Linked DNA regions of Homo sapiens: region 1 is linked to region 2. Evidence: promoter capture Hi-C in 16 types of primary human blood cells and fetal thymus (Javierre and others, 2016). All regions are on one chromosome and are shown on one strand. The core of a region is centred on a gene start or on the middle of the fragment in contact, and the rest is flanking DNA. Distances in the headings are between cores, read along the strand shown.

What was found. Contacts are between HindIII fragments. The CHiCAGO score rates a contact against its expected background, and 5 or more counts as called.
Region 1: a contact is called between a fragment that was not itself captured here and the fragment with the promoter of TMPRSS11E in region 2, in 1 of 17 cell types (erythroblasts). The highest score is 5.4, in erythroblasts.

Annotation. Positions count from the first base shown.
Region 1 is chr4:69,458,519-69,461,255 of GRCh38, forward strand. No RefSeq gene overlaps it. Among named protein-coding and RNA genes, the nearest start is that of UGT2B4, 36 kb to the right of the region's middle. The HindIII fragment of the contact is 1,470 bases long and covers 592-2,061 here.
Region 2 is chr4:68,446,043-68,448,864 of GRCh38, forward strand. TMPRSS11E (transmembrane serine protease 11E) reads left to right here and starts at 1,421. Exons shown (of 10, transcript NM_014058.4): 1 at 1,421-1,481. The coding sequence starts at 1,471. The HindIII fragment of the contact is 3,931 bases long and covers 1-2,492 here.

The sequences.
Region 1 (2,737 bases), core at 77-2,576, 1.0 Mb after region 2:
TAACCCTTTACAGAGTTTAAAGCTCTTTTCAGTAGTTTTCCATCACTCAGGCAATTTATCTAACCTTTGGAGAGAAGTGCACAAAGGCTGTTGCAATCACATTGACCCTTTCCTCTGTGATGTTACTGACCATTGACCCCAGAGACAACGATGCAATGCTATTTTCTCCAGATCTCTGGGAAAGTTTTCATTTCCTATGAAGAAATAATTTGCTCTGTCACAAAAGAGCAATAACACAGCCAACATTATTGGAAGAATTGCTACAAGAAACTAAGTAGAAAAAATCAAGTATCAGCCAGAATTGTTAGCGGAGTGGCTATGGTAAAACATGCATGAAACTTTCCATCATAACCACTTCTAAGTACACAGAGAATGCTAGATATATTCACAATGCTATGCAATCAATCTTCGGAATTTTTTTCTTCTAAAATGAAAACTCTATACCTAATATACAACAACTTTCCATTTTATGCTCTCCTTTTTACCTACTAATCACTTTCTTTTTCTATGAATTTCACAGTTTAAATACCTTATATGAGTGGATTACAGTGTTTGTCTTTTTTGATTTATTCACTTAGTCTAATGACATCAAGCTTCATCTACATTGTAGCATGTGTCACAATTCCTTTTTTTAAGGCTGAGTAAAATTTTATTTCGTGTATATAACATATAGCAGTTACAGTTGTTATATATTTGTTCCTTGATAGACATTTGGATTGTTTCCAGCTCTTAGCTTTTGTAATAGTGCTGTTATGGACATAGATGTGCAAATATCTCTTTGAGATCCTGATTTTCATTCTTATTAATACAATTCAGAAGTGGAATTTCTGTATCACATGTTAATTCTATCTTTAACATTTTTTGAGAAACCTCCATACTGACTTCTAGTAGTGCCAGTTTTTTAAATACGACATCGCTCAGTTCCTTTGGAAAGACTTATGTTATACAACATCAATTTTCTCTATTATTAATCTGTAGTTATGTAAGTGTGTGCATGTGCGTGTGTGTGTGTATGTATTTGATTAAGTATGTAAAGTAAGAAATAAATTAGTATCTTTACACAGTAGTGAGGGAAAGATACAGTTAAAAATATGGGAACCAAGCTCTTGTAATCACTAATATAGATTCTTAGGAAGACTACCACTGTTTACTTCTCTTTAATTTTATATTGTTATTGTTCTCCTAAGTAACTTGTTTTTATTTCAGGGAGGTTTTCTAAATCATTACTTTAATGTAGTCATTATAATTTCATTTCCTTGATTATGCTACTAAGGAAAAGTCACTTATGATTGGGAAGATATTATATATTTCTCTCAACTGTATAATTATTTCTAACCTATCTTAAAATTTGTCAGAATTTCCCAAACCTTCCTTCTAAATCACTCCTTCATCACATAAGGTAAGAATTGCTGACATCCCGAAGCCTGGTGCATGGTTTTGACTGGTGTATGGTTTTGAATTTCTGTGAACTCATCCTCAAAATCCTACTGATAATCCATAAGTAAACATGTATAGTTACATATTTCTGGGTTTGTTTATGGGTGACACCTGTTACTCTGATATCTTACTGTAAAATTGGCACCCTCATGGAATGTGTTATGTACAACTGGCTTCGAGGGACTCTCATCATCACCTCACCATGTCCTATGCGGAGGATGCACATGCACACTTCAGTGGGAGAGGTCCACCAGGCTTTTCTCCAGAAAAGATCCGGTCACTCTCTTGAGCAGCTCACTTCACGCTTCAGAAAACTCCTGCTAAAGACTTGTTTTCCTGGATTTGTTTGAGAATTATTCTTACTTGTGATCCCTTCTACTTACGAGTTTTAAAATTCAATTTCTTTCTGTAAACGAGTAATTCCCATGTTACTTGATGTACTTTCCCACCAAAAAAGAAATATGGAGAAGCCAAAGTTTCCTTGTTCTCCTGTCAAAACTGTATACTCACTTTTTTGTTATTCCTTGTGTTTTACATTCACCATTTAACTTTACTTTCTGTAAAATAATGATCAAACCCTTTGAACATAAAAAGTGTACTTTCTGATATAAATCATGGATGTAAAGCTTACTTTAAAAACAATTTTTCAAAGGAAAAAGATAAAAGGAAAAACCATTCAGCCTTTCACTGTGCCAAATATGTATTGTCCAGAGCATTCTTCAAAAGTGTGACTTTAACCTTATGACATTAGTTTCAAAATGAAGGTCACTATACTAATTATATCAACCACATAAAACAAGTATTCTGTATGATTCCAGTTACTTGTGGCAACATATAAAGTAACCTGTGTTCAACGTTTCATCTCAATGGTTTCCTGCCTAAAACCTTTTAGGGGTGGAACTTACAGTGTTGCAGTATGTCATCTCTGTTTGAAGGTTAATAACTAACATGGAAAGTTCATTCTCTTTCTGTGATATCCTTATGAAAATTATGCAAGCGTGTTGTAAGAAAATTGAAAGAGAATGAAAAAGTAAGAGTCACTCCATACACAGATACCCTGTTTAACACTTTATGCTTTTATTCTAGTCTTTATTCCTATAACTAAATGTATATTATTTTGTATACATTTAGAAAATTGTAACCCACCATATATTTCTTGTATTATTCTACAAGAACAAGGTGATCTTATATTTATTTTCTTTGCTGCTCTGTTTCCAATTAAACATCGATAATGGCTGTTTTAGTGTTATCAAAGATACTTTGATAAAACAATTGTAATATTGTGATATGTATATGCTAT
Region 2 (2,822 bases), core at 171-2,670:
GTATAAAATAGAACATAGTATTATTAAACCATATTAACATTTCATTGGCAGAGATTTCACTTTGTTAAAGGCTGTATAAGAACAGCTTAATCTCATAACCCAGAAGTTTTTACTGTTATTATTGCCTCTTTATTTTTGGCTAAAGTGTAATTTTTAAATGAGTATACAGAAACCTAATACTATATATTGAATGACTTTAAGTAAATAAATATCCATGCTATTCATCAGGATAAGTGACCTAGTGACCAGAATAAAAAGGATATATGTTGGTAGCCCCTAGCACAGTATGCCTCAGCACAGAGGTTTCTTGGGTTACTGCTAGTGAATGATTCCAATTCTTGGCCGTCTGATCCCACACATTACATAAATTCCAACTCCTGCATCTGTTTAGGTGAGCTGTTGGCTAAATGGATATGTAATGAAATTAAACAATATTTTTAAGGTGCTTTTTAGGATGGGTTATACCCCCTCTTTTTCTCCTCCTTTCCTTGCAACCTGCCCTCTACTCATTCTTTTTATGCATATTTTTGAGAGCCTGAATATGCTAGGAAGAGGGTTTCAGTCTGTTAAGAATTCACAACCTTGTGGAGTTGAGATACAATTAATAAAATTTCTAGTATAATGAGGTAAGTATTATGATACCATGAAAGCACAGAGGAGAAACACCTACTCTGTTTTGTAAGGATTAGGGAAAGCAATTTAGAGATTATACCTAACACAAACACACAGATATTTGCATAGTATGTGAGCACACGTTTAAAAAAATGTAATTTTCACCCTAGAAATAAGACAGTAGTGATTCAGCGTGAGTTGATATGCCTGTCTCCACTATAATGAAAGAAATATAACGTCTTAAGTATGGGTTGACATTTGCAAACTAACTGATTTTTCTAGAAGAATGATGCCACATAATTTAAAAATATTAATGCTTTTCTAATCTCTAGTGTATTTTCAATGGCTAACATAGTTAAAACCAAAGTGAAATTTTTATTATGTACATAATCGAATGCAAATTGTGTCAGGCTAGTTTAAAAAATATGAATGTCAGTCCTGGCTTGGCAATTTAATAACTATTTGGTTTTTGACCAAGTCATTTAACTTAATTAAACCTCAGTTTCTTCTCTGTAAACAAGAGAAGGTCAAGCAAGATAGTTTTAAAATTTCTTTCCAAATTTATACGTCTGACTTTTCTAAAAAATCTGGTTTACACTAATACTTAAAAGAAATTATCTTAAAACAATAAATTATAAATTTATTTTTTGCTCTTGCTCCCTGTAAAATTTGTCCTTGTCCTGCTAGTCACATATAGTCCCCACTACACCAGCCAAGACTTGTCAGACTGGTTCTGTTGAGATCATCAGTGACTTATTTCCTCACTTCAATTCAGCCCACAAAGTCATTGATAGAGCTGGATTCACACACTTGGATGTAGACCTCGACCTTCACAGGACTCTTCATTGCTGGTTGGCAATGATGTATCGGTGAGTTAGTTCCCTTTTTCTTTCTAGAAGTCTTAAGGTAACTTTTAGTTTAAAACAGTATGAGCCACACCAAGGAATGTGTAGATCTACAGTTTATTATTTTTTTAAATATAGAAACATATTTTTGAGATTTTACATAAAATTATGTCAAGAAAAAGATTTCTATTCTTTCTGTATTAGTGTTTCCTGTCCTCTTTTGTTGTATCCCATGTGTTTTTCTGTTTACTTTTAGAAGGTTTCTACACAATGTAAAGGTACATGGTGTTTGACAGCTGTCTTTTAGTTAGTTTGGCCATATGTTTCAAGAAAGATATAACATATTTTTAGCTTGGGCTTTGTTTGTCTTATTGAGAAACACTTTTATTTTAGAAGGTGTACATGAAAAAAAGTCTGAAATAATGCAGAAAAAAATGTTTATTTCTGTAAGTAGTTAAAAATTTAAAAACTCTAGATGTTTTGAAAGAATCAGAAACAACTGAAGAAAATAATATGACTAAATTATTATAGCCTGATTTAAAAAATAAATCCACTGATATGCCTGGCCATAGTCAACTTCTCCAAAGATAAGTCATGATCATTTTGAGGTTTTCTTTCAAAGTTAGAAACTAATCAGTAACAAGGTTTTGGGGTACTAGTTTTGTCTTTGAAAATAATTTTATCTCCTGATTAAAATTTATTTTCTCTGATTCTCATATTGGCATATCATTTTTTATTAGTTTTTACTTTGAGAACAGTTTGAAAATGTTAAACTTTGAATGAAATCTGTGGTCTTCATTTAACATGGAAAAACAGGTTCTGTCATCAGTTGAAAGTTCTACATACTTGTTATTAGAAGTTTAATACTCTTCTGTACATATCCATGAAGCAACTAAAAGCTACGGATACTAAACATTTTGTTGGGCTTATCAAGGCTCCCTGCCTTTTGCAAGTATTTCTTTACAACCAATGATGGTTTTGTATCCTATTCTCTTTTTCTCATTGACTTTACTATAGAAAACAGTGCTTCAAGAAAGCTTCCAATAAACTTAACATACTAAATAGATTACAAGCCTTATCTATGGTATATGTCAGAGATTTGGAATTTGGTTATAAATGTGTAGAGGCGGTATAATGTGGGAATACTGGAGTGAATTTTTCTGAGTGTAGTCTCTAATTTGAAGCAAAAGATGTGACTATTTTTAAAAATCCTGCTGCAGAATAGATGCAAATAATCTCTCATGGAAAAAACCAAAAACCAAAACCAACCATCTAACAAACAAAAACGTCTTCCTGATCTGAAGATTGTATGAAAGATGAAGCACATCTATGTTTGAGTGGGTCTAGATGAGATAAAATGTTAAG